Linked DNA regions of Homo sapiens: all the other regions are linked to region 4. Evidence: promoter capture Hi-C in 16 types of primary human blood cells and fetal thymus (Javierre and others, 2016). All regions are on one chromosome and are shown on one strand. Each heading gives the region's core, a stretch centred on a gene start or on the middle of the fragment in contact. The rest is flanking DNA. Distances are from core to core; before and after follow the strand shown. Region 1 holds the start of EXT1 (exostosin glycosyltransferase 1). Region 2 overlaps TRPS1 (transcriptional repressor GATA binding 1). Region 3 overlaps TRPS1 (transcriptional repressor GATA binding 1). Region 4 holds the start of RAD21-AS1 (RAD21 antisense RNA 1). Region 5 overlaps TRPS1 (transcriptional repressor GATA binding 1).

Region 1 (2,700 bases), core at 34-2,533, 1.2 Mb after region 4:
AGGTGACAACTGGTCTCTGTCTAAAGTATCCAGACTCAGGACAAAGAGGCACGCCTGGCTGGGGTCCGAGGTGTAGAACCTGGAGCCCTCGATGGCCGCTAGAATGTTTTGGTAACTTTCGGCGATTTTCTCCCCTTTTTGCTGTGGGTATACGTAGACTTTGAAGCCGTTTTTCTTGCAAAGGGTGAAATCGAAGCAGGACTCCATGCGGCACTTCTTGCCTTTGTAGATGCTGGAGTTGGCATCTCGCTTCTGCCGGGGGGAAATGTGCACGCTGGAATCCTCGTTTTCCAATTGATCCCAAGGAACGAAGGGGCGCAGAGCGTCCGGGAAGCGGGGCCAGAAATGATCCGGACTGGGGTGGTGCAAGCCATTCCTACCGCTGTGTTCTTCTCTCCGGCTGTGGCTCCTCGATGCCCTAAACTGCAAGCCTCCGAAATAAAACAAAAGGGCGAGACAAGAGCCAGCTGAGAGCAGGATGAAATAGCGTTTTTTGGCCTGCATGTGTCCTGCCTGGGTCAAGAGGATTGTAAATAAACACAAGAATCACCCAAGTTTCCCAATCAACACTTTCAGCTCCAGTCCGCCATCTTCCCGCCTGTAAAGACTTCAAACTCTCCGCTCCCACCTTCTCTGGATGCCTTTCCCCAAGCCGTGGACTGATCCAGCGCATGTGGGCGATTTCTTTAACTTTCTCCCCTTCGGTCTTTCATCTTTGGGTTGCACAATGCACGGGAGAGAGCGGGGCTGAATATCTCGCACCCAGGGCGGGCGAGCAGCGGACTGTAATTTTCTTGCATGCAACAAGACGGAGGAAAAGAAAGAGAGAGGGGAGAAAAAAAAAGCTCCCGATACCCAATCAATGGCAAGACGAAGTGATTGCCTTGCCTCTCGGATTCCTCTCGGCAGCGTGGAAAATGAGCCCCGGGAAGGCAACTTCAACTCATCCACCACTCTCCGTGCAGAGCACTCCGGTTCCAACAAGTCAGCCGATCCCGGGTTCAGCCGGCTAGTGCATCTTGCAGCTGGGGCGCCGTAACCTCACAAATCCCTGCATCTCTCTTTATTCCCTTCTGCAGCGGCTCCAAGACTCCGGCGGTGTTTACTCCTGCGCTCGCGGGGCCGGCCCCCGGGACGCGCGGCGGCCCGGCTGGAGGCGGCGGCGGCGGCGGCGCTGGGTGGCGGCGGCGGCGCGTCCTCCCCGCGGGCAGTGCCGGCCCCGAGCAGCGCTTCGCAGGCCCCCGCGCGAACGCTGCCGACCGCCGCGTTCGGTCGCCGAATGTTACCCGGTTCTGAATGTTACACTTACACATTCCATTCCCGACACGACAGCGCTGACCTCATCCATCCACGCAGCCCGCGCTGCCATTGGCCGAGCGTCACGTCCGGGGGGGGCGGTGCTTCCGCTGCGCCCATTCATAACCCCCGGCCGCGGGCCGAGGCGCCGGCGCGGCGTTGGGGGCGTAGGGGGCGCAGGGAGCCGGGGCTCCCGGGTTGCAAGCTGCCGGCGGGCTGCCGGGCAGGTGGAGCGCGGGACGGCCCGGTGCGAGCCCCGCGGCCCCTCGGCGCGCCCAGGCCCGGATCTCGGCCTGCGCCGTGCCGGGGACCAGAGGCGCCTGCGGAAACGCGGCGGCCGGGGAAGGAGGCACCGGCAGGGGCCCCGTGCCGCGCGGCCCCGGGCGCCCTGGAGAATCTGGCCTCCTGGGCTGCCTGCCGGAACGCCTAGAGAAAGATGCTTTGAAGGAGGGAAGCAGGGAGGAAAGGAAGACTTCATAGAAAGCGACCGCCGATCCGAAAGCTGCCTCTCCCAGCCCTCCTTCCACTCTCCGAGACCCAGTATTTCAATTTTCTGCTAAGCATTAAAACAATCTCCCCTTACTCCTCCTCTACATAGCACATTTTTTTAAACCAAAGAAACACCCCAATGCCCAACAATAAAGAGGAATTATTACAATCAAGAGGAATTGTTGCAATTCTTCATGCCTGCCTCTGTGCTAAGAGTGTAAGACGGCTATCCTAAATCCTCATTATCTACTTAGGCCGCCTTGCCTGAGCCCCCTCTGTCTATTATGAAGAAAGCTTCCAAGAGATCCAATCACAGAGAAAAAATAAATTTTCTAATGGCTGCAGGGAAACCAGTTAATTTAAGCTTGCCCCAGTCCTCAAAGTGATGTTATTCTCTTGGTGGTGGTGGTGGTGGTGGTGGTGTTAAAGATATCTCTTAAGGACATATGACTGGTAGAATTGCCAACTGTCCCAGCTATAGAAGGAACACTTGCATCAGGAAAACTACCTTATGTACAATTAGTGCCAAATAGTTGGTCCTTCCCTCACTGACCTCCCACTCCTTGGCCCAAGCTCCTGCCACTCCCAGTGGAAGAACTTCATTAGATAACTCAGGTAACCGAGGAGCAGTCCCGCTAAAGATCCTCCAGGTCCACAAAGATGTGCTAGGCTCCCAAACAGTATCTCTGGTCAAAGTCAAACTCCCTGGCCTCAGATCCTGAACACTGCTTTACAGAAAACACCTCCCACCCTCTGGCCTAGCTAAAGTCTCAGGGCTCGGGCAAGCTAGACAGTTGCCTAGGGCAGCCGGCTGTTTAGTGATTGTTTATTATGGGAGTGACTGAGAGCTAGGAGCAGACACTTCCCGGCTTCCCTCAGGCTGCAAAAACCCCAGCGGGGTGTGGATGAAGGGCA
Region 2 (2,804 bases), core at 273-2,772, 1.4 Mb before region 4:
CATGATGTAGTGCATGTAGATATTTAGGAGTCCTTGGAGAATGGACTTTGAATGTCATATATAGATTCGCTGGTATTATAGAAACAGCCAACTTCTCTAAGTACATGACACAGTGTGGGCCACAACAAACACTTTTACCCACTGATTTTCTGAAGGAAAAAATACATTTAATTTTCTATTTTTGCTTGCAGGAATATGGAAGAAAGGTAAGCATGAATTGTCACCTAAAATTGGAAACTGCAGTGAGGTTGATACTACTTTGGAAAATTCTCTAATTCTGTCTATGGCAATAAATAGGGGGCTGCACTAATACATATATAATGTACATACATACTTTCTTCTTGCTGGCGAACAGAGGTCCATATCTGGGTAGCAAGCATCCAAGTATGGTGCGTGTGTGTGTGTGTGTGTGTGTGTGTGTGTATGTGTGTGTGCATGTGTGTGTTTGGGGGAAGGAAGGGGTTACACAGCATAGTGCAAAATGAGAATTTAAGTTATCAACATTTAAAAATTGGGTGATTTGACTGGGCGCAGGGGCTCACGCCTGTAATTCCAGCACTTTGGGATGCTGAGGCGGGCGGATCATTTGAAGTCAGGAGTTTGAGACCAGCCTGACCAACATGGTGAAACCCTGTCTCTACTAAAAAAAAAAGGCCAGGCGCGGTGGCTCACGCCGGTAATCCCAGCACTTTGGGAGACTGGGGCGGGTGGATCACGACGTCAGGAGATCGAGATCATCCTGGCTAACACGGTGAAAACCCATCTCTACTAAAAAAAATACAAAAAAAATTAGCCGGACGTGGTGGCGGGCGCCTGTAGTCCCAGCTGCCAGAGAGGCTGAGGCAGGAGAATGGCGTGAACTTGGGAGGCGGAGCTTGCAGCGAGCCGAGATCTTGCCACTGCACTCCAGCCTGTGTGACAGAGCGAGACTCCATCTCAAAAAAAAAGAAAAAGGAAAAAAAAATAGCTGGACGTGGTGGCATATTCCTGTAGTCCCAGCTACTTGGGAGGCTGAGGCAGGACAATCGCTTGAACCCAGAAGGCAAAGGCTGCAGTGAGCTGACATCATGCCACTGCACTCCAGCCTGGGTGACAGAGTGAGACTGTCTCCTTGAAAAGAAAAGAAGTGGGTGATTTGACATAAAAATCTATACTTTCTAGGTTTTGTTGACAGTTATAATGTCTCATATTACTAGGTTCATTTTCTCACATGGCAAGACATAGCTGAGGTGCCTGTGACTGCCTCCTTTAGAAGGTGTATTCCTCACTCCACAAACCTCTTGGCCTTGACATTTGCACAATCTGCTCGGTTCTCATCAGCATTAATTTTGCTAAAATAACCTTCAAGTCCTTTGATATTAATTATCCTAAGCCTTTCTGTCTTTACTGCCTTGGTAGTCTGGAGGTAGTGGAGCCTGCTGGTCTGGGTTCAAATCCTGCCTATGACACTAACTAGCCATGTGACCTTGGGCAGGTTGATTAGACTCTCCTCAATGCAATGTCTTCATCTGTATAAGCATATAATAATGACATCCACCTAGCAGGCTGGGGTGAGGACTAAAGGAATTAATTCAGTGATTGGATAACATTAAGTACTCAATAAATATTGGTTATGATCGTTCCATTTCAGAAATCCATCCTTTCCTCAAACTCAAACTCAGCAATCCCACACCTCCTGTGACTGGCTGACACCAACATTTGGATGAGCATATAAAATGTATCTCAGTGTCTAATATATCTATAAACAAATACTTCAACTTGAGTATTTTGTCACCTTTCTAAAAACATAGATTTACAATGTATTCAATATAGATCTAAAATGAAGATCTCACCTCTCCCCAAACATTTAAAGATCCCCATTATTTAGAGAAAAGCAACCTAGGGCTCTCACTCCTTCGCCATGTAGTTTATCATTAGCATCTTATCTTCCACTAAGGTCCCCCATCCTTACCCCTTTGATCCCTCTACATGGGATCACATGCCAGCTACAAAGACTGTGTACTTGCCAGTTTTTATAAGGAATGTGATTTCTTACCATCATGTCTGGTGTCCAACATGGTACATACAATAGAACAGGTGCTCTGATAAGGAATGTGATTTCTTACCATCATGTCTGGTGTCCAACATGGTACATACAATAGAACAGGTGCTCTGATAAGGAATGTGATTTCTTACCATCATGTCTGGTGTCCAACATGGTACATACAATAGAACAGGTGCTCAATACATTTTCGTTAAATAAATAAATGAAGAGTGAATCCAACTGATGTACGTTCTTCCTATCCATCTTTTTAGGTCCAGGTCAAAGTACTTCTTTTAGCTCCTCAAGATATCTCTGTCTGTCTTCAATCTGTTCATTTCATTTTATTGGTAGTTCTAACATTTTCAAAGTATACCTTTTTCTACAATGTTTATAAACTTGACTATATCTCCCACTAACCTATGAGCTTCTAGAGGGCAAAGAGCACCCTTTTTTGGGGGAGTCTCCCCAGTATGTCTTTCAAATCATCAGTCCTCAATTAATAAAATGAATTGTGTCTCATCATCTCAAAACTCAACAATTTTTTTAAATGGTATTTTCCAACAAAGATGATTTTCTTCCCCTTTTCATCATTCAGTGTGACTCCACCATCCTGAAATTGGCACCAACTTCCTCCACCATATCCAATTAGTCACCAAGTCCTGTAGATTGTTTCTAGTATTGAGGTTTTCCTTCTATGAGGGGATAGCTCCTTGCACTTGTGTCTTTGTTTTCCAATCCACCAATGATATCATTTCTAGGTTAAATTTCTGAAGACAACCTA
Region 3 (2,700 bases), core at 112-2,611, 1.4 Mb before region 4:
GAATTAACCAGCTGTTGACTACACACCAGTAGACCCTATGGAATATACTGAATTCAGGAGCTAAAACAACTTAAAAATAGATGGTGGTTTGCAATAAACACCTTTAGATTAATAGCCAGACTCTTACCAGGAGCACAGGCTGGCCAACAATTGAACAAGACCAGGGAAAGCACTCTGCCAACAGAAAGCAATAGTTTACCAATATCCTGGCCAACTTTTGTTTCAAATAAAATTGTGAAGAATCCGTTGAAATGGGCTGTACTGCATGTCTTTGCCTGCTTTAAAACAGTCCTCTTTGCCCTCAGATTTCTTGCCAAAAAACTGAAGGGACTCTATCAGGTTCAGCCAAGCACCCATCTTATAATCACCATAGAGCTTGGAAACAAAACCTGTTTACCCTGCTTATTAAATTCACTTCCTCAACACATCAGCAATGATAATGGAGACCAGTGTAAACTAAACTGGCATCTCTGGCTAAGAGCAATAGAACAGTTTTTGTTCCAGGACATGAGGCAATACATACTCCAGTAATCATACCTTGCACTGAGATATGAATGCACCTAAGACTTATCCCACTGACAATGTCGCCACATAGGGAGCTACCCGATATATCAGGTAATGCTGCTGTGCTAAACACATTAGCTCCATCTCTTCTGAGATGTAACTGGTGATTCTCAGAGTGAAAGAGCAGAAAATCACTATTTCCCCATGTATATCCCACTCTTTATTCATACAGATTCTTTACATCTCAAGGTTTTAGAAATTTATCACACAGATATAAAACCTATTACACAGATCTGAGGACCCCATCTCCCTTCTTTAACTAACCCCATATTTGGTAGCTAACCCTGTATTTGGTAAAGGAGCAAACCAAACACCCTGTGTCATAATGAAATTACATAATAGAATCAGAATTGGAAAAACCCAGATTTCTGGAGTTCTAACCACGCTGTTTCTGTAATAATGTTCTGCCTTTACAGCAAATATGCATTTGGACAGCTAAAAATATGGTTGAAAATTTATGTCTGCACTGTCTTTTTTTTCATTCCACGTGAAAGTCATTATTGTTAAAAGAACTACTCAAGTCTCTCAGAGCTTCTATTTTTGCCATCCTGTATGTGTTTTCACCCTTCCTTCAGCTACAACAATGGCTGGAAAGTAGCTCTATGGGGACTTTCTTCTATGCCAGTGCCAAAATCTGACACTGGAAGGAAAAAAATACTAAAAGGCCTTTTGGAGGCACAGTTAAACAATTTTAGCACCTCTTAAACTTCAGTGTGACAGCACAAGAGTTGATTCTTCTAATAAATTTGTTGCATATTTTATTTATATAATATATTTAATAAGCAGATTTATTCTGGGATAGGTTCATATTCTAAAAATAAAAATATCAGCGATGAAGACCTTTCTAGAAAAGTCCTAAAAGCCAAAAGTCTCAGCTTCTAGGCATTTAATTAGAGAGTCAGATACAGTTATTAATATTTCATGTATTACACCTTTTTAGGGCTGCCTTTATAATATATAATGGTTATTTTGGGAAAAAACAGAAAAAAAATCAATAATTCTTTTCATAGTATCTAACATAATAACTGGTTTATGAAGTGTTGCCACCCTCGAGGCAGCTATATACAATTCAGTGGTTCCTCGATGGTTTCTCACACTCTTGGGGATCATACAATCTTTTGGTGAAATGTATGACACTCTCCAGAAAAAAATAAAGTGTAAAATATTTACAAATAACTTTAACATGGTCAAAAGCATGTCCCTCACAAAATGTATCCAAAGATTTCCTGTGGATTTGAGTGCCGACTGATCCAGATCCCAAGGTTAAGAACTCCTAACACATATTATCCCAGTTCAGATTTACGGTGAATTACTAATTACTATTACTCTCCTTTTATTGATGAAGTACAAAACTGACAATAGTTCTTTGACTTATCTAGCATCAAAGAACACATTCTGGTCTCTAAGTCTAGGCAATATGACAGGATCATATTCTAAAAAGCATTTTTGGCCAGGCGTGGTAGCTCATGCCTGTAATCCCAGTGCTTTGGGAGGTCAAGGTGGGAGGATTGCTTGAGGCTAGGAGCTTGAGATCAACCAAGGCAAACACAGCAAGAACGTGTCTCTACAAAAAGTTAAAAAAAAAATTAGTTGGGTGTGGTGGTATGCATCTATAATCTGAGCTACTCTGGAGGCTGAGGAGAGAGGATGGTTTGAGCCCAGGGGTTCTAGACTGTAGTGAGCTATAATCATGTCACTGTACTCCAGCCTGGGCAACAGAGCGAGACACTGTCTCTAAAATAGATAAATAGAAAATTAATTAAATAAAAAAGAATTTTTGAATCAACTATTTAATAGAATACTCTTGTTTGACTATCTTTGTCCCTTTTTAAATAATCATCATTGCACATATGTTTGCAGGATAACATATGATAGGCCTAGTCTCATTATCTGATATCCTCAGAATGATCCTAAGAGGCAAGTATTATTATCATTATTATTATTATTCCCTCCACTTTATAGATGAGAAAACTGAGGCTTAGAAGCAATTTGCAACTGCTGAATAGTAGGGCTAAGATATAAACCCAGGTTGCCCTCACTTCAAAGCCACAGTGAACCATGTTTCAGGCCTTATTACTAAAGAGGAGATTGGGGAATTTTTACCAAAAATATTACACCATATCCTGGCCTTAAAGA
Region 4 (2,730 bases), core at 135-2,634:
ACTGCTGATGCGAAAAGTAACTCTGAAGACAATCTTGCAGCAAAACATTAACCAGCCAGTATAATCATGCCTAACAACTCTGGTTTGACATTTAAACTAAAAACACAACCTTATTTCTCAAGAATTAGAAAATTTCCATTCTGTACCAAACTGTAAAAGCGTTTCTTAGAATTTGTATGTTTCACAAAATAATTCACCAGAAATTCTTTTGTAATTCTGACTTGTGTATAAAAAAAAGCACTATGTCTATTAGTTATGCACTGCTGTCACCTCAACTATACAAACTGTTAACTTATTTGAAGATCAGATATGGCGTATGTCCTCATCAATGCCTTTCCAAAAATAATTAGTTGCCTCCGACATTAACAAAGGTATTTAATGACTTCACGATTTGAGAAACCTTCTCCTGCCTGTCTCCAAAATTCTATAGACTCGCACTGCCCGCTGGCATTTACACCCAATTTAAGAAAATAGAAATTTTTGCCTGAAAACCAATTACTCTTCTAACCAGTATAATGACAACAAAGATTAACTTTCCCTTGCAAAAAGAAGCCGATAAACACAAGCCTTTCCCAGAAACTCTTCGCACAAACGCTGTTTTTTTTTTCACGCTGAAGACACTAACAAATCAGAGTGACCAAGTAAATCCCCCAGGGTTTCCCTCTTACAAATTTGAAGAAGGCCGCTAAGTCTGGCAGCACAACCCGACAGTGTCACCCCACACTATCAAAGCGGATCATTCGCAAAAAGCCTTTTTCAGCGACGAAAAGGGCATCAAGCATTTATCAGAAACACACACCTCCCCCAGAGCGTCTCTACAACACCCGATATCCTTAATCACTTTAAAGAATGATCAGAAAAGTTCAGGGGAAAACCAATTATGCAAATATCCTTGGAAAAAGAAGCAACTTCCCTCCGTCTCTTTTTCCACGCGTCTGTGAAATATTCAGCATTCCCAACGTAAAAATTATCTTTTTAAAACGGGAGGGCAGCAGCAGTCACTGGCCGAGGGGCACCCGCCGACCCCCCGCCCCACCCCGCCCAGCCCCACCAGCTCCGCACTTTCTTGAGCCCCGCACCCGAGTTCGGCGGAAGGTTGCTGCTCCCGGGGCTGGCACCGCGGGCGCCGGGCCCGCCACCGCCTCCTCCCAGACAGCCATTTTTACCCGCGGAGTAGGCGGCCCGGTCCCCAGAGCGGGCTCGTTCAAACCTCCTCCCCTCCCTCCGCAGCCCAGGGTTTCCCCGGCCTCCTGGGGGACGTGAGATGGACCTGCAGGGTAACAGCCTTTGTAGATCTCAGAATGGATCAGAATCATTTGTTACCGAACAAGCGATGATGCGGGCCCAAGCTGCATGGGTCCGGGCCGAGGGCGGGCCCGGGGCGAAGGGGGCTGGGCGGGTGGCGCCGCCGCTTGGGCGCCGGGAGGGTGGCAGCACGCGTGGGCGCGGCGAGGGCTGCCTTCTCCCTCGCCCTCCCGCCCCCAGGAGTCCGGCTCCCCGACGGCAGAGCGGCGGGGAAAGGGTGGGGGGAGGGAGCTGGAGGAAAAGAAGGGGTCGGCCGAGTCTCTTACCTTGCTCTCCGCTGGGAGTTGGGCGGGCTGGGTGGCCCGGGGAGGGGAAAAGGGTCGGGGGAGGGGGTGGGGAAAGGGGGGAGCCCTTGCGAGGTGTAGCTTCCGAGCAGCTCCCGCCGCCGCCACAGCCGGCGCCTCCTTTCCGATTCACTCAAACAAACAAGATGGCTGCCGTTACGCCGCGGCTCTTCCTGCCGCCCAAATCCTCGGTTCAAATCGGCAGGATGTTTACGGTCAAAATGGTACCTGTGCGCCTGCGCAGCCAGCCCAAGCCCCCCCCTCCCCCCAGAAGGAGCGGCGCAGGCGCAATGACTATTTCCTTTTCTTTGGAACCCGCCCTCTGTTTGTGGAGTCCACAACTGAGCAAGCGCAAAGGTGATTCTCTTGCGAGGGTCTTTGAGAGTTGCGGTGTTAGCCAATAGCGTAAGATAGCGCACGCGCAGTGCTTTCCAGTGCGGTGAATATTTGCGTTTAGCTTTATTCTTGTGCTTGTTTTAAAGAAAAAAGCTGTCGTGGTGCAATTTTGTGTGCCCCCACCAAAAAATTCATTTTATGGCTCTATAGGGATGAAAGTAACATAAAAACCTCAAACTAATTCCATAAAATATAGAGGTTCATTTATTCAGTCAACCTATATTATAGAGGGTCTTCTGTTTGCTACACGTTGGGCTCTGGATATAATGATTAATATAACAGAGATAATAACTGCCTTTTGGAAATTTTCAGTATTGCTTGGGAGGAATCTTAAAATTTCTTATCTTAAAAGACTTACTTGTACCACGAAGAAATTTACTTTTGTTTTTATTGTAGAGATCTTTCCAGTGATGAAAGAAATTGAAGAGGACACACAAAAATGGAAATATATTCCATGTTCATGGATTGGAAGAATCAATATTGTTAAAATTTCCATACTACCCAGAGCAATCTACAGATTCAATGTAATCCCTATCAAAATATCAATGACATTCTTCACAGAAAGAGGAAAAAAATCCTAAAATTTATATGGAACCACAATAAGACCAAGAATAGCCAAAGCAATCCTGAGCAAAAGAATAAAGCTGGAGGCATCACATTACCTGACTTCAAATTATACTACAAAGTGATAGTAAACAAAACAGCATGGTGCTGGCATAAAAACAGACACATAGACTAACGGAAC
Region 5 (2,700 bases), core at 83-2,582, 1.2 Mb before region 4:
GAATCAATTCCACTTTGCAGGGACTAGCATGGGTAATGTATTAGAGATACTAAGTTTGCAATTTGGTATCTTAAATTTATTTAGGGCCTAATGCATTTATTCCTCTAATGAAAATGTTTTCTAGTAGTATTCAAGATATATGTGCAGAGCTGTTACTTTTTACAGTAGCAGCTTATTTGTTTTTACACATAATTATAATTTAAGAATGCCGATCGTCTCATGCAAAGCAGTCGAAAAACAAAAACAGCCGACAAAACCAGAGAAAGCTTTCTTTATTCTAAAATGTCTTTACATTAAAATATGTCAGATTAAAGTCTCCACTCTACATACAGATTTAATTTTTAACCCTGTGTCTGGGCAGTATTTTAAATTTTCTTATCACTTTTGGAGAATTCCACAGAACTATCTTAAGCTAGTTTCAAACCTGGTAAAAGTTGTGAGTTCTTTTTTTTCTTTTTCCTCCCATCAAATTTTGAGATATAAAATGCATCATGTCTAAATGAGAAACAATTAAATGTCATATTATTTTACACCATTCATAATTTTCAACTAATCACAAAGAATACTATATGATTTTCCAACATCACTGTTTTTTTGAAGTGAAAATGATTTATGAAAGGATTTCCCTCTAACTACTCCTTAGAAATGACCAAAATATTTTATCATAAAAAGGTGTGACAGGAGAACTGAAATCACTGATCTCTCAATTTCTGATGCATCAAAACATTTCTGAAAACACAAGAGAAAATAAAACAAAATAAGTGCAAAATTCATTTGCATTTTACAGGCAATAACAAGGTTTCTGGAATAAGAAAACCCCGAAAAGATAAAGTACTTCCTCTACTTTCTGATAAGCTTTAAAAGAAAAAAACTAAACTAAATATTTCAAAATCAATGGACTTCAAGTAATCCAAGAGAATTTGGAAAACATTTCTCTAAAAACTAATCCAGAACACAAGGTGTCAGTTTGGAAATAATGGAAGCATATTTCGTTTTAAAAATCTAAAACATTTTAAAGACAAAAATTCAAGTTAACATCCCAGTGATTAACTCTGGAACTGCCTAGCCAAAAACAACTTTCGGCACTTAAAACATAAAACTGTCAGTTTCCTCTGCTTGGAGACAAAACATACAAAAAGCAAACATTCACTGTTATATTTTCCTAGACATGAAAGATAGAACTAACTTTCATAAAAGGTGATCACTCTGAGTATTTCTACCTGATATGATATTCATGTCGTAGCTCCTAAAAATCAGTTACAAATTCCAAACCTCAGAACTATCCTTAATAGATGGCTACTATTCTAGTTTGCGTTACTCCCTCGACTTGATGGAAGTACAATCATTTATTGAACTACACTAGCTCAACTCATAAATACGTTAAGAAGCCTGTGACTGATGTTATTGAATTTATAAGCTACCAGAAACAAGTAAACTCCTTACTGTAGACCTCAAAGAGTTGATAACATGACACTTGGCATTGTACCTCTTGGGAATCTAAAACATACTGATGGTGAGAATCTTTCAAGTATTCTTCTGCCCTAAATCCAGAAAACATGACTTTCAAGCATCATCCATGGTCGAATGGTCAAATTCACATTTATAAACTTGGAATAGAGAGTTTGGTGGAAGTACTGCATAACTAAAATTGACTTTTTTTAAAAGCCAGAACTATGTCACAGTTGGTGCTTATAATTGTTTCAAAATTATACAACTTTATTTAATTCCATGCAACGCATTTCCACATAGAAATGGAATAGCAAACTCCTACTCAATAGCAAACAATAAAATAAAATAAAATAAAGTATGTAAGCTTTTTCCTCTTCTTAGACACTGTCCCCAGAATGGAAAAGTTATAAAGAAAGGTAGGTAAAAATCCTGCAGCTTACACATTTTTCCACTGAGAAGGCAAATCCTTACTCCTCCAGAAACTAAAATATTAGACCCCAAACAGTGTAGGGGGAAGAGGGGTAGGAAGTTGAAAAAAAGAAAAAAATGATGATAAAGCAGGGCAGAATAAGCCAGAGGAAGCATGCTTGGTCTCAGCATAATTTTCTTTAGCATCCTAAAATCAACGACATCATGCTGCCCATGATCTCTGCTTACTCTTCTGTAACCCAGTCAGAGGATTTTCAAAAAGGAAGAAATCTAGTTGTGCTTCCAAATGCCAAATGAACTTACAGGACCTTCCACTCCTGAAGGAAAACAGCACAGTAGCGCACCAGAAGCTAGAGAATGCCTTGAGTCACGCAAAGCCGGAACTGATGAGTGTGACCCCAGTGGGGTTTATCTAAAATTCCCAAGTACAACAGGCAAAGGGGTCAAAGTTTTCTATGTCAGAGATATATAAATAAAGCCATATGCAGCAACCGTTCCTTATGTTATCATGGATTATACAGTATCCTAGTCCCCCTTCTGTTCAGATATATATACATCTCTCTTTTAAAGAAGGAACTGAAAATGGGAAAAATTAAAAGGAGGGAAACCTGCTAATACTACTATCTACCCCCAGTTCTCCAGCTCTAATCATTATTACTCTCATTTTTAAAGTGTTAGTATTGCCAAGGACACACTGAATCGTTCAGGAAGTGAGAAGAATATGTATGTCCATAATTATGTGCTAACAGTGATATACTGAATTATTCTGGGAGTAAAAAGTACATGATGTACATAAATGTACACAAATACATGTAACACTAA

What was found. The method cuts DNA at HindIII sites, captures the fragments that hold promoters and counts their contacts. A CHiCAGO score of 5 or more calls a contact.
Region 1: the fragment with the promoter of EXT1 here is called in contact with the fragment with the promoter of RAD21-AS1 in region 4 in 6 of 17 cell types (naive CD8 T cells, total CD8 T cells, naive B cells and 3 more); the score reaches 9.7 in naive CD8 T cells.
Region 2: a contact is called between a fragment that was not itself captured here and the fragment with the promoter of RAD21-AS1 in region 4, in 1 of 17 cell types (neutrophils). The highest score is 5.1, in neutrophils.
Region 3: a fragment that was not itself captured here is called in contact with the fragment with the promoter of RAD21-AS1 in region 4 in 1 of 17 cell types (neutrophils); the score reaches 5.1 in neutrophils.
Region 5: a fragment that was not itself captured here is called in contact with the fragment with the promoter of RAD21-AS1 in region 4 in 2 of 17 cell types (naive CD4 T cells and non-activated CD4 T cells); the score reaches 5.9 in naive CD4 T cells.

What each region holds. Positions count from the first base shown.
Region 1 is chr8:118,110,543-118,113,242 of GRCh38, forward strand. EXT1 (exostosin glycosyltransferase 1) reads right to left here and starts at 1,284. Exons shown (of 11, transcript NM_000127.3): 1 at 1-1,284. The coding sequence starts at 504. RefSeq lists silencers at 1,137-1,226, 1,327-1,706. The HindIII fragment of the contact is 5,337 bases long and covers 1-2,077 here.
Region 2 is chr8:115,442,158-115,444,961 of GRCh38, forward strand. The region is part of intron 5 of TRPS1 (transcriptional repressor GATA binding 1); the gene reads right to left. Among named protein-coding and RNA genes, the nearest start is that of TRPS1-AS1, 66 kb to the right of the region's middle. The HindIII fragment of the contact is 3,221 bases long and covers 1-2,804 here.
Region 3 is chr8:115,424,978-115,427,677 of GRCh38, forward strand. All of the region lies in intron 5 of TRPS1 (transcriptional repressor GATA binding 1), which reads right to left. Among named protein-coding and RNA genes, the nearest start is that of TRPS1-AS1, 83 kb to the right of the region's middle. The HindIII fragment of the contact is 3,991 bases long and covers 1-2,700 here.
Region 4 is chr8:116,873,040-116,875,769 of GRCh38, forward strand. RAD21-AS1 (RAD21 antisense RNA 1) reads left to right here and starts at 1,385. Exons shown (of 2, transcript NR_033886.1): 1 at 1,385-1,946; 2 at 2,382-2,730. It overlaps RAD21 (RAD21 cohesin complex component), which reads right to left and starts at 1,737. Exons shown (of 14, transcript NM_006265.3): 1 at 1,572-1,737. MIR3610 (microRNA 3610) reads right to left here and starts at 1,761; the gene lies at 1,689-1,761. RefSeq lists silencers at 1,045-1,094, 1,255-1,574 and an enhancer at 1,685-1,734. The HindIII fragment of the contact is 5,133 bases long and covers 1-2,730 here.
Region 5 is chr8:115,656,056-115,658,755 of GRCh38, forward strand. The region is part of intron 1 of TRPS1 (transcriptional repressor GATA binding 1); the gene reads right to left. Among named protein-coding and RNA genes, the nearest start is that of TRPS1, 12 kb to the right of the region's middle. RefSeq lists an enhancer at 2,107-2,401. The HindIII fragment of the contact is 958 bases long and covers 854-1,811 here.